Regions from separate parts of the Homo sapiens genome. Here region 1 is linked to region 2. The links are contacts of gene promoters, found by promoter capture Hi-C in blood cells and fetal thymus (Javierre and others, 2016). All regions are on one chromosome and are shown on one strand. The core of a region is centred on a gene start or on the middle of the fragment in contact, and the rest is flanking DNA. Distances in the headings are between cores, read along the strand shown. Region 1 overlaps TTC34 (tetratricopeptide repeat domain 34). Region 2 holds the start of TPRG1L (tumor protein p63 regulated 1 like).

Evidence for each region. Contacts are between HindIII fragments. The CHiCAGO score rates a contact against its expected background, and 5 or more counts as called.
Region 1: a contact is called between a fragment that was not itself captured here and the fragment with the promoter of TPRG1L in region 2, in 1 of 17 cell types (total B cells). The highest score is 6.1, in total B cells.

The regions. Positions count from the first base shown.
Region 1 is chr1:2,636,367-2,643,071 of GRCh38, reverse strand. TTC34 (tetratricopeptide repeat domain 34) reads left to right here. Exons shown (of 9, transcript NM_001242672.3): 9 at 1,177-6,086. The coding sequence ends at 1,704. MMEL1-AS1 (MMEL1 antisense RNA 1) reads right to left here. Exons shown (of 3, transcript NR_183343.1): 3 at 6,452-6,705. Among named protein-coding and RNA genes, the nearest start is that of MMEL1, 6.7 kb to the right of the region's middle. RefSeq lists a silencer at 4,835-5,035. The HindIII fragment of the contact is 158 bases long and covers 4,987-5,144 here.
Region 2 is chr1:3,622,278-3,629,199 of GRCh38, reverse strand. TPRG1L (tumor protein p63 regulated 1 like) reads right to left here and starts at 4,185. Exons shown (of 5, transcript NM_182752.4): 1 at 3,927-4,185; 2 at 3,685-3,776; 3 at 3,311-3,487; 4 at 1,547-1,700; 5 at 1-791. The coding sequence starts at 4,127. The coding sequence ends at 597. It also overlaps a transcript of MEGF6 not described here. RefSeq lists enhancers at 3,149-3,811, 4,792-4,911 and a silencer at 4,112-4,341. The HindIII fragment of the contact is 13,719 bases long and covers 786-6,922 here.

The DNA.
Region 1 (6,705 bases), core at 3,816-6,315, 990 kb after region 2:
CCGGCCCAAATGTGCGGGTCCTGCGCGGGCCGAGGCTTCACTACCACCCCGGGCCGTGAACTACGGGTCGGGGTCAGGTGCCTCCGCCCGGAGAGGGGCGGTCCCGCGGGCCGCACCGCAGGCGAGGGACGGGGTTTCGAGCCCCTGCCCTGCTCAGCGCCGCTCACAGCTGGCAGAAGAGGCCACACTGTGCCCTGCGGGAGCCCAGCAGCAAAGCCGGGGCCGTGGGACCCCCTCGCTCCCTGCACGGACCCCGGGCGTGGGCCTCGGCTTCGCCCCGTGCGGCCAAGCCTGGCGGGGTCCTGGGTGCGCTGCGCCCCCCGGGGGAGGTAGCGTCGAGGACCGCCGGGCTGCTGGAAGAGAGGCAGCGCCAGCGAGAAAGGCGGGGCCTGCACCTTGGCGTGTTCCTCAGGCAGCGGGGAACCCCTGCAGATTCTTGAGCGGAGGAGGAGCCCAGCGAGGCGAGCGGATTTCTGGTCGTGGTTGACTCTGTGAAAAAACTGGGTCAGAGATGAGGCGATTGGGCCTGGGTGGGCTCAGGAAAGTGCCCGGGAGGAGTGGGGGGGGCAGGCAGGCCTGGCCAGCAGCAGCCCACAGCACAGGCTGTGCCCTCCGTCCAGCAGCCCCAGGGAGAGGGGCTAGGGTGCACGTGCTCAGAGGCCTGGAGCAGCCTTCAGAAGGTGGGCAGAGTGGAAGGGCTGGGCAGCAGCCCCCTCAGAGGGCCCGATGGAGAGGTGACTTGGCCCAGAGGGACCGAGGGAGGAGGCCGGTGTGGTCACCCAGTCAAGGGAACCTGGGCCCAGCCGGTGGGGCGGTAGGGCTGCCAGGAGGGGACCATGAGGAGGTAAATCCAGGTCCCTGATCCGAGGCCCAGGGAGAAGAGCAGTGGGCAAGGATGCCAGGCCTTGGGCCAAGGGTCGGAACAGCACTTTGGCAGGTTCCAGGGCAGTGGGAATTGCAGGGAGGGGTCCTCTACCCTGGGTCCCCCTTCCTGCCCTTGCCCATGGTCAGCCAGCCCCTCCAGAAGCAGCGGGCAGCTCCTGTGCAGCCCAGGGCCCCGCCATCCCCAGGGAGCCAGCAGAAGCTGGCTGTGCAGAGGACCTCTGCAGGGCAGGGGCGGCCGGGCTTTTGGGGCTGACCCCACTCTCCCTGCCTCTCTCTGTGTCCTCTGTGCAGGCGGCGGCCCAGGAAGCCGGCACCCTCCTGGACGCAGGGCAACCCAGGCAGGCGCTGGGCTACTGTTCGCTGTCTGTCCTGGCCAGTGGCAGCAGTGCCTGTCACCTGCGTCTGCGGGCCACCTGCCTGGCCGAGTTGCAGGAGTTTGGCCGGGCCCTTAGGGACCTGGACCATGTGCTCCAGGAGGCGCTGGGGGATGGTGACCTCCCAAGGCGGGCAGAGGACTTCTGCCGTCAGGGTCGCCTGCTGCTGAGCCTGGGGGATGAGGCGGCGGCCGCAGGGGCCTTTGCCCAGGCCCTGAAGCTGGCGCCCTCCTTGGCCCAGAACAGCCTGTGCAGGCAGCCAGGCCGGGCCCCCACTGCACGCATGTTCCTTCTCCGCGGGCAGTGCTGCCTGGAGGAGCAGCGTCACGCAGAGGCCTGGACGGCGGTAGAGAGCGGCCTCCTGGTGGACCCCGACCACCGTGGCCTGAAGAGACTGAAGGCCAGAATCCGGAGGGAGGCATCCTCAGGCTGCTGGCTACAGTGACTGGGCCTGACCCTCTCCCAGCCCTAATCACGGGGCCACCCTAGCATCTGCACCTGATGTCCAGGCCCAGGGGTGTACCCAGCTCCCTAAATCGGGGAGGTACCTGCCCTGCCCTCTCCACACCCCCTTCCCAGCCCTCCCCACACACCCCTTCCCAACCCTCCCCACAACCCCCCTTCCCAACCCTCCCCACAGCCCCCCTTCCCACCCTCCCCACACACCCCTTCCCAGCCCTCCCCCTTCCCAGCCCTCCCCACACCACCTTCCCAGCCCTCCCCATACCTCCCTTCCCAGCCCTCCCCATACCTCCCTTCCCAGCCCTCCCCACACCCCCCTTCCCTGCCCTCCCCACACCCCGCTTCCCTGCCCCAGCATGAGTCAGTGTTGGACAGCCAGCCTCACACCTCTGCCTTGGGAAGGACAGGGGACAGCTTCCTACTTGCATGAAGGGACCATCCTAGAAGCTTCACAGTCCCTTCTACCACCAGCAACCTGGTCCCTGCAGTTGGGGCCCTCTTGGCCCACACCTGGGGCTCAGACCTTGAAGAAGCAGCCCCAGGTCTCGTCCCTGGCCTGGGATCCTACAGGTTGGACAGGTTTGAGGCCAGACTCCTGGGGCCCTTGGGGAGATGGTACCAGCCCCAGAAGCCCCTCCCTGGGTGTGAAGCTGCGTTTTGCTTGGACCCTGAGCCTTGGGCCAGCCTCCAGTAGAGCCTGAGCCCTCTCCAGAGACAGAGCTCCCAAATGGGCCCAGCCAGCCCATACCCCAAGCTGACCTTTCAGGGTGCTTTCATGGGGGCCCTTCATCGAGAATCCAGTGTGCTGGGGGTAAACTTCCTCCCTCCTCCACAGGCCCCTCCCTTCCAAGCAGAGGGACCACCGAGGGGCCCTGATGAGCACAGTCCCCAGGCTCCCACCAGACCTGTCTCCCGAAGCTGCTGGGAGGTATCAGTGCTTCCACAGAGCGAGAGAACAGCTTGTTCTTATACGTGCGTTAAATGTCCCCAGGCCTTGCAGCTGCCAGTGAGCTTGGGGACTTCTGGGTGGGGCAGAGGCAGCCAGCCTTTGCCCATCACTGTGAGTGTCACAGACTGAGGCCTCAGCCCGGGGCTTTCTCTCATGGCCATGGGCGAGAGACATGCTGGGTGAGCTGACTCGGTGCAAAACGTGCCCCCAAGCCCTGCCTGACTTCACCCTGGGGAGACAGGGCCACGACCCCCCCTCCTGGCTTCTCTCTCCTCCTGGGCACTTGCATTTGTCCCATTTCTGTCCCCTTCTCTGCCGCTTCCTTCCATGGTCTTGAACCCACAGATAGACCCCCTGCCTCTCCACCCACTTCGCTTCTGGGATCATCTGACGAACCCCAGTCCAGGGGGTCAGGCAGGGAGGGGCCCTATTCCTCGCCCTGCATGGAAGTGGGGCCCCCAGGCGGCAGGTGCAGGGCTGGGTAGCCCCCCTCCTCCTCAGGCCTCACCCACTCCTCAACCCCCATGCACCTTCATCAGCTGGCACCGCCTATGTGTCTCTGGCCACAGGGGTCTGGGTAAAGGGTCAGTGCCTCCCACCTTGAGTACCTCGGGGATGGGCAGCCCACAGTGGGAGAGGGCCCTGACAGGGACCTTCAGCCCCGCTCCTCGCCTTCCCCGCTCGGAATCTTCACGCAGTCCCCCTCTTCCGGGGTTCCCCAGCGCAGGCACCAATTTGATCCATCTTCCGCCTGCCAGCTCCCCATCCACCCTTCCCTCCCTGTCTTCACCCGTGTGCTCAAGGACTCAACAAACACCTGTCAGCAGCCCAAGAGCTAAGTTCAGGGACACGCAAGTTCCTCGGGTCAGGTGGGCCAGTCGGCACTGAGGCAGAGGAGGCAAGGGCTGGTCCAGAGAGCCTGGTCACAGCAGAAGGGCCTGCTCCAATGTCGGGGCCAGGTGGAGGCAGTGGGGAGGCGTCCCCTAGGGGTGCCCTTCCCCACCACGTTCCCTGCTCCTACCGTCCTCCTCGCCTGGGATGTCCTGCCCCATCCATCCGTGCAAGGCTGAGTGTAGATGCCAGCCCCGCTGAGGCTCCTCCTGGACCTCAGGATCGCTGTGTTTCTCCCCCACCAGGGGGCTGCCCCCTCTACCACCAGCTCACCCAGCAGGTATCTCTCATCAGCCTTTGGCCTGGCTCCTTGCTGGGCTCTGAATGTCTGCATTCCCCCAAACTTTATGTGTTGCGATCCTAACCCCCAAGGTTATGGTATCAGAAGTGGGGCTTTTGGGAGATGACCAGGGGTGGAACCTCATGAGTGGGATTAGTGTCCTTATAAAAGAGACCCCAGAGTTCTCCCAAGCCCCTCCACCATGTGGAGACCCAGTGAGAAGCTGTCTGTGAACCAGGAAGGGATCCTCACTAGAGAGCGAGCTGGCACCTTCATCTTGGGCTTCCAGCCTCCAGAACTGTGAGAAATAAGTATCTGTTGATGAACCACCTGTCTCTGCTATTCTGTTGGGGCAGTCCAGATAGACAAAGACATGCCCGTTCCCGCGGCCCACCACCTCTGCCCTGAGCACAGTGGGTGAGTCTCGGTTCCCCTTATCCCATCCCTGCTGGGGTCCAGCCCTGGCTTTTCCTGAGGTAGTTTCTCCAGGACCAAGCAGACACCCACAACCAGCAGCCCTTAAGGCATGGACGCACTCGTCCCTGAGGCCTGGGTGTCCCGCCTGGAGGGGCATGTCCACAGCTGCTCTGGGTCCTGACGCTCCAGGAGCTCACGCTGTCTGCAGATCCACCACTTCCCTGGGCAGTCCCCGGCCTGCGTCTTCCTCAGTGCTCAGCTGGAGGTGGAGAGAAATCAGGCTGGGACGGAGGGTGGCCCTTGCTTTGCACGATTCCTGCCTCGACGTTACACCAGGGACATTCCAGCATCTCCCCTTCATTAACTGTAGACCGCCAGCAAATCCAGATTTCATTCAACCAAGTAAACTGGTAGAGTCATTTCCAGCAGCTAATGTGAGCTAGCGCATTAAATTCAGAATCTCTAGTAAGTGTACCTGCATCAATAAAGCCAAGCCGGTCCAGCTGCATTAATACCCTACCCTCCATTCCCACACGGTTCCCAGGTCTCCGTGTGTGAATTTGTAACATCTTACGAGCATTTTGGTGTGAAAGTGGTTCCTTCCTGAGTCAGGCTTTGTACTTGACCCTTCCCCTCCCTGGGAGTACACTGAGGTTCTAGAGGCAACAGGGTGGCTATGGTGGTTAAATAAAATGAGCATCATTTCTAGGCACCTGGCCAGGTAAGCTTATCACAGCATTTTCAAGCAGAACAAAAAAAATAAATAAAGGCTACTCTCAGATCTTGGAGGACAAGCTGCTTCCCCTGGAAGGAGAGGCTCAGAGAACCAGGGGGTTCACAATTCTCAGCTTCATCTGAGCCCAACCAGACATCCCCATGCCAAGCTTCAGCATCCAGTTCCTTCCCACTCAGTGCCCACGTTTCAGTAGTGAGGCTGTGAGTGTGAGCCACACAGCAGTCACACAACTCAGAGTTAAACTGTGCATCCGAGTTGTAGCAGCAGCAGCCCCGAGGCTCTCAGGAACAAGGGACTCTTCCATGGCCATGGCAGTCCTGATTCTCTGTCTATGACTTAAACTGAGTTTAGAGACCTGAACGTGTGGTTCCTTCCTGTTAGTGCTGCTGGACACTCAGGGGACCCCCCACAGCCCTCGTGGTTGTGGTCATCCTCGTGGCCGTGACAGCCTCACACAGCAGCACGTGGGTTCCCGAGGCCCTCAATTCTGCTGGTGCCTCACAGCCAGCATGGGGGATGGCTTGGTTAACTGTGAAGCTCCCCCAACAACACTGTGGGCCAACAGCCTCCCCTTCCCACTGGCCAGGAGATCGGCCTGCAGCCCAGCCCAAGCAACAACCACACTAACCTAATCCCCGGACCCCACCTTTTGATAGTGACAGGAGGCAGACAAATCCTAGGCAGACAGGGACAGGTTCCCAGTGAAACCCCACCTCCGAGCCAAAGACAGTTTAAAGCCTGAAAGCCAAGCTACAAATTAAATCCTCAGCCTGGATTGAGAACCCATCTTCCCATTTGGCTGCTTTCCTCTGATTGATCCCCACCCTTCACCTATTTTACATGTACCTATCTTTTCCTAATTCATTTTCTACACTGGCATGCCCACCTTTGAGTGGTACCTTTGTTTAAGCCTTTTTTGCATAATCAGAAGCCAATCAGCATGCACTCCCCCATTCTGAGCCCATAAATGCCCCGGACCCAGCCACACTAGGAGAGAAACCACCTGACTTCAGGTCGGGAACCACCCGTGCATCCCCTCTCTGCTGAGAGCTGTTCCGTCTCTCAATAAAATTCTTCTCTGCCCTTCTCACACTTCGATTGGCAGCATCTCCTCATTCTTCTTGGACACGGGACAAGAACTTGGGAACTGCCATACATGGGTACAAGCTATAACACAAGCAGGCTGGAACATGCCCAGCCCAGCCACAGGCTGAGCTGGTGAACAGCCAGGTGTGGCCCAGGCAGGCTGAGTGGGTGGGCCACCTCCTGCGGCAGGTAGCATGGCCAAGAGAGGCCTGGGGAGGGGGGGTGTCAGCAGCCAGAGGTACCTGGCTGGCAAAGTGACCAAAGAGGTACCTGACTGTGTCACTTTGAGGGCCTGTCTCTGGGGACCCCCTCCTAGTATGAATTTATGTATCAGTTGGGGTCTACTTGGGAGATGGAAACCACAACAGTGATTCTAATAGCATGAATTTAATGTGCAGAATTTTTCATTAGTTCTGGGTAAAAACAGCTCTAGGGAATCATGGAGGTTGCAACCACAAAATTCAGAGAGGTGACCTGGCTGGCGACACTGGTGATAATGGTCACCTGCCATGCAGCCTTTCAGCTCAGGTGGGCACACTCCTCTGCCCCTGCCCACTTCCTCTCCCAGGTGAATCTTGACCACACCTGTGCCTGGCACTGTGCACACATTCTCTGTTGTTCAACT
Region 2 (6,922 bases), core at 2,936-5,435:
AGGTCACCCATTTCCAAAAGAGCAGCGGGTCACCAAGGGGCCCACAGCCACAGACCGGTCTCAGTCAACCGGTCTGCTGGCTGCTTTTGGATGAGCTGAAGTAAAAATGGATTACATTTTAAAATACAAAATTGGACACCAGGTGTAAACATACTTGCAACTGCAGGCACTCGAGATACCAGGTGCCTCCCTGTTTTCAGCAACCTAGGCAAGCGCTAAGGGGTGTGCTATGGGTCCCGCGTGCTGGGGCAGCTGGGGTGGGAAAAACCACGAGAAGCCAAGTAGATACTCAAGGAAAACACCAGAACTGAAGTTACAGAGAATGAAATACCAGCAGCACAGGGACAGCGAGAGTCTTTTGGCTTTTGTCTGTAGCTTATATGAGCAGAGTCCAATATCCAATTAAATAGATAGAATTCACTTTACGATTCTAATTGTGCTGAGATCCCTAAAGGTGAAAGATCCCCATCCTTCCAGCAGCAGCAGGGCAGCATGAAGACTGCCAGGCCTCCCAGTCCCCCAGCCCCCACATCCCTTGGCCTTCTGGGGAGGGGGAGGAGCTCCCAGAAGGGGGAGGAGCTCCCAGAACGCAGCGGCTAAAAGCCTATTTTGCCCCTGGTCATGGAGTAGCCCAGTTTCGCCTCGTTGTTAATGAAGGACATGAGTCCCACGTAGGTCTCGATGAGCAGGGGGCGCTCCAGGATCAGCACGCCATTCGCCTGTCCTGGCAAAGGGCTTTCTTTTTGGGCTTTTTTGACAGCTTGGATTAACAGAGCCTTGAAGCTTTCCAACTTTAAAGAGAGAAAAACATGGAGCTTTAACTGTCAGGCAAGATAAGAATGTCTATTACTTGAAAAAATTAGCATTCTGAGACACTTAAATCCCTCCAAATGCCGCCTATCTCTTCGTCCCTTCACTTGAAAGGGCTGCCTCTGCCACATCCTGGGGGTCTCTCAACTCTCGTCCCCACGGAGCTCTCTAGGTGTGTGGAAATCTTGCCACCATGCTCTCCTGTGGCCAATGGCAGCCAGCACCTGCAGAACCCTTCCTGTATACAGGGCTGAGTGGCTTTGCCGTCACCCAACCTACCAGGTCAGTAACCAGGCCGAGGCACACAGCTGGGGAAGTGCAGGACCCCCGCCAGGCTCTGGGCTCTGGGCTCTGCTCTAACCCCAGCCCCGAGGCCTCCTCTCCTGGTGCGCATCCGCACTGGTCATCTGGCACGGCTGGGTCTGCTGCCACTCTCTGAAGCCCAGCTGGGGCCCTTCCCCACCCAGATCACCATCAGGAGGCCACATTATGGAGCTATGCTAACCAGCAGCCACTGGCCACATGCGGCTACTTTAACATAAATTAACCAGAATTTCTGACAACTTAGGGAATCAACTCTAAAATGAGAGCTTCCTCTCTCATTTCTAGCCACGTCTCAAGTGCTCGGCAGCTCCGCGTGGCCGCCGGACAGTGCAGACCTGAAGTGTCTCCGTGACTGCGGGGGGTGTTTCCATCACTGCGGGGGGCGCGGCTATTTATGTGCCTGTCTTCTTACCTGACACAGAGATGCTGTCTTCTCATCTGCGCCAGCCATCGGGTGTTCTGTGAAAGTGGCATAGGGCACGTTGGTAGACCAGGGATTCCATCTGTTTATGAAGGAAGGACGACTTTGCTTGTCCCACTGAATTCGAATCCCAAAACCTTCTCGCCTGAAAAGTCAGAAGAAATAGCCAGACTTAGCATGGCAGGCCACAGTGCTCTCATGGACAATCTGACAGTCTCATCAGTTAGGAGAATATGACAGCAAAAAGCACACGTTTACAGAAAAGACCTATGACATATCACAATGGAAAACGGCTTGTAGTTTTTATTTTTGTTTTTATTTATTTTTATTTTTTGAGATGGAGTTTTGCTCTTGTTGCCCAGGCTTGAGTGTAGTGGCCTGATGTTGGCTCGCTGCATCCTCCACCTCCTGGGTTCAAGCGATTCTCCCAACTCAGCCTCCGGAGTAGCTGGGATTACAGGCATGCACCACCACACCCAGCTAATTTTGTATTTTTAGTAGAGACAGGGTTTATCCATTTTGGTCAGGCTGGTCTCAAACTCCTGACCTCAGGTGATCCGCCCGCCTCAGCCTCCCAAGGTGCTGGGATTACAGGCGTGAGCCACCGTGCCTGGCCGGCCTGTGGTTTTTAGTAGTAACTTCAATCTCCACTAACAATTGCTTTAAATACTGTGGGTATAAATATGACAAATTAGGTATATTTTGGTTATTAAATGTATTATTTTGGTAATCTTTACATGATTAAAAATTAATAAACAGGAATACTGGCTGGGCACGGTGGCTGACATCTATAATCCCAGCGCTTTGGGAGGCCAAAATGGGCGGATCTCTTGAGCCCAGGAGTTTGAGAACAGCCTGGGCAACCTAGCAAAACCCCATCTCTACAAAAAATACAAAAATTAGCTGGGTGTGGTGGCGGGCACCTGTAGTCCTAGCTACTTGGGAGGCTGAGGTGAGAGGATCACTTAAGCCTAGGAGGTGGAGGATGCAGTGAACCAAGACTGCACCACTGGTGCCTGGGTGACAGAGTGGGACTCCGTCTCAAAAAAAAAAAAAAAAGGGAATAATTATAGATAGGCTAGCCAAATGAGTGAAAAGGAAGTGTAATCTTCCTTTTCCTTATGTCATATTAAATGTTTTAACCAAAAGGTAAAATTTTTATTTTAGCTTCCTGAATCCCCCATCCAAATCTCTCCATCAAAAACCCAAGTTCTACAGCTTAACTGACTGTAGTAATGTTTAGGTTCCTCACGTCAGAAAATTATCCTACAGCAAAAAGATCAACTCCTGAAAGCTGGTCATTAAATATTTCCAAATTTGTCTTTTAGTGGTATCTATAAATTACAACGGGACCCTCCATTTCTCTTTAAAAAATTAGCCAGAGCAAGACTTGATGTGTCATATGCAATCTGTCCCTGGCTGGAGAAAAATGCAGAGTTTGGACTTTTCCTGAAGAACATCCAAGTTCCTTTTTAACACGCTGGGCTCTACTTCAATGCATCCTGAACTCATGTAAGTCTTTTTACTACCAGCCTAATAGCTGCCTTCTGTGCCAGAATTCCTTTTAATGCACTCAATTGCCCAGAAGTCGCTTCTTTTTAAGGAACTTCCCATTGATATTTGGAGCTGGAGCCTTTGTGCTTATAATTAATGACAGAGAAGACACACCGCTTGGGGGGCTGATTTAAAAGGGCTGAATTGTAAGGTCCACTCTGGTGCTTAGGTCCAGTGATACTGGACTCTGAACAGGCTTACTTGTTGAGCGATTTAGGGGGAAACTGGAATTCTCCGTAGGAAATGGTGTCTACTGCGTTGAGCGCTATCCGCACCACCTGCTGGCACTGGAGACTGATGAAGTCGTATTTACAGATAAGCAGGGACTGCTCCGTGACCAGCACCAGCCGCTCCTTCTCATTGTTCCAGTGATCCACCCTGTAGGCAGAGGAGGGGCCTCAGTCCACACTGGACGCGGCTGTCTCGACTTAGCCAAGGCCAGCCCGCCTGGAAGGGCAGCAGGGGCGGCACGGGGCGCCTGAGCGTGGCACGAGCACCCCGGGAAGTCCTCGCAAGGTGCTGCGCGGCGGCTCGGGGCGAGTCCCCCCACCAAGGAGAGCGCAGCCCCGGCTTACTCGGTAAGCAGCCACACTCCCTGGATCTCGCCGTCCTCCACGGGCCGCACCACCACGCGGATCTCCTCCACTGCCTGCTCGATGCTGCCGGGCTGGGCGGGTTGCGGGGTGGGGGACGGGGGCAAAGATCACAGGTCACAGCTCGCTCCCTGCGGGACCGCCCGGCGCCCGCCTCCGACCCCACCCGCCCCCATCCCGCCCCGCGCCCTCGGCCCCCGCCCCGGCCCTGGCCCCTGCCTCACCCGGAACACGAAGTACTCCTTGACGCGGGCGCGGCGCGTGGGGTCGTGGATGCTGAGAGGCCAGAGTGTCTGGCGCAGCGGCGTCCCCGCCCCCGGCCGCCCCCCGCCCGGGCCGCCGCCTGCCCCCACCTCCTCGCCGGCCGCCAGCACCGCCGTGGGGCTCGTACCGGCCGAGTCCACCGAGTCCCGCAGTTGCAGCATTGCCGCACCCCTTACCGACCCCGACCCTGACGCCGACGCGACCGCCGTCGCCGCAGCCACCGCCACCACCCGGCCGCGCCCCCGGCCCCGCCCCGCGGACCGCCGCGATTGGCTCCGCCTTGCCGGCCCCGCCTCTGGCTCCGCCCCTTCCCGCGTCCGCCGACCCTCGGGATTGGCTCTCCTCCTGCCGTTTTCCGCGATTGGCTCTGCCCCGCCGCCGTTCACAATCGCTCCCGCCCCTCGCCGGGCCGGAAGCGACCGTCACGCGCAGGCTCACTTCCTGTTTACACAACGAGAAGGGGCGGGGCCGAAGCCGGTTGCCAGGGTGTCGCGGAGCGGCTGGGAAGGAGGGGCTGGGAATCTTGGAGCCCCTTGGCCCGCGGGGAAAGCGGGTGACCCGCCCTGCAAGTGGGATGCCCCCTTCGGCCTTCTGGAGCGCAGGTGGGGGCGCGCGCCCATCGGGGGCTCGCACTGCACGGAGGGTCGCGGTGCCGGGGAGCTGAGGTTGGAGGATGCAGGGCGGCGGCCCTGGTGCACCGTGGGGGAGTTCGCACGCCGGGCAGCGATCTTCTGCCGGGACCTGGCGTTCTTCACACACGGCTTATTCGTGACGGATCCACAGAGCAATGCACTCTGAAGCCGGAGGGTAGAAAGTGCTGGAATGCGCGCCCGGGCCCAGGCTGTCGCGAGCCTTCAGCAAGCCAGTGCACACAGAGAGGGCTGCCCAGAGATCCCGGTCAGCGCTCGCAGTTCGAGGTGGAACATGTGTGTGCCCTGCGCTAGCCCCAGCTCCCGGAGGTGCCCCCAGCGCGTGTGGAGGGGGGCGGTGAACGGACCCGCAATCTGGTGGAGGCTGCGGGAAGGAGGCGCAGAGTCCAGGGGTCAGGGTTACCTTCGGGCAGGAGGACAGATCCCTCTGCTCGGAGGTGAGGAAGACACACGAGGCGAGGTGCACACAGGCGAGGAGAGTGAGATGGGGGGAGAATGAGGAGTTCAGGATACATCTGTTTACTTCAGTCAGGGAGTGGGGATGGAGCGGAGTATTTGTAAAGATGGACGGTTTAGAATCGCCGGGATGAGAACCGGGCAGGGAGCTGATCAGGGAAGGGCATGGGGATCTCTGAGCAGCTGGGAGACCCCAGGGAAGTTTGCAGTGGCGCCTCCCACGCGGCAGCTGGGGGAGTGGAAGAAACCAATGCTGGCTGGTCTAGATGGAGGAGTTTGCTGGGTAGCGGTGGTCAAAGACCAGAGAGAAAAGGGAGGCCAAAATCCTAGAGGGAGTGTTGCCCAAGAATGGTGGAGTGCAGGGATTCTGCCCCACTTGCCAGCAGACAGGCCAGGCTGCCAAAGTTGCATGGGCGCTGGCAGAAAGACCCAATACCCCTGGAGTCAGAGAGGAAAGACTACAACAGGAAACGGGCGACGCTGGTGTGCCCAGACGCATGTTGCACCACAGCGGGTGCACTACAAAACAGGACCCTGGATCCTGTGGACCAATGTGGTCTTTGTCCCACAGGGAGGCTGTCTCCCCGGCAAGGGTGCCCACTGCAAGCACAGGCGTGAGAAATGGCCCAGAAAAGAGTGGTCAGGGCAATGTGTTCTTGGCACGCCCAGCAAGACCTGCCAGAGGGACCTACAGACGAGTGTCTCCCAGCTATCTTACCAGCGGGGACCTTGAGGTCCAAGTATCCAGTCCGGTTAGAAATGGCCGCGGATCCAACAGGTGCTGGTGAGTGGGAGAATACCCCTGAGGGAGGAAGAACAGAGGCCGGGAGGGAGCTGAGTGGATGTAGATGAGAAATACCTGGACAGCTGCAAGCTGTAGTCAGTGATGGGCAACTGGAACCAGAGATTCCAGAGAGAGGGAGGGAGAAAGAGGGAGGAGAAGGGAGAATGAGAAAGAGAGGGAGAGAGAATGGGGGGGAGAAAGAGGGAGAATGGGGGAGAGAGGTAGGAGCAAGTTCTGGACCACGCCAAGGATGGAGCTGTGGTCCTGGAACCAGATGTCCAGGGAATGGGATGAAGTGACACTGGCTGGGGCCGAGGCTGCAGACTGCTGGTGGGAGCTGGCAGGACAATGAGGATTCTGAACCAGGTGCCTGAGCCTTCTGTGGATATGGGGAGTGACTTGGATGTCTATAAATTCCAGAAATGATAGGAGGGATAGATGATGGAGGGACTGTATTTTAGACAATAAACAAATTTCACTCAGTATGGATGAGTTTCCTGGGGCTTCTGTCACAATGCATCACAAACTGGTTTTAAAAACAACAACTGTTTTAAAAACAACAGAAACGTGTTTCCTCATAGCCCTGGAGGCCAGAAGTGCAAAATCAAGGAGTGTGCAGGGCCATGCTCCCTCTGCAGCCCTGAGGGTTGACGCATGTCTTGCTCTGCCAGGCCTGCTTGGTGTCCTGGGCTTGCTCATGCACTGCTCCCATCCCTGCCTCCATCTTCACACGACCTTCTCCAGGTGGGTCTCTTCTGCAACATCCCTGTTGGATTAGGGACCACCCTAGTGACCTCATCTTTAGTCGATCATCATCATGTTTGATCAAATAAGGTCACTGTGTTTGTTTGTTTTCCCACTGCTATTAATATGAAGAACTTACCTGAAGCTGGGTAATTTATAAAGAAAAGAGGTTTCATTGACTCACAGTTACACATGACTGGGGAGACCTTAGGAAACTTACAATCATGGCGGAAGGCAAAGGGGAAGCAAGGCACGTCTTACATGGCGGCGGGGGTAGTGGGATGTGCCACACTTAAACCATCAGATCTTGTGAGAACTATGA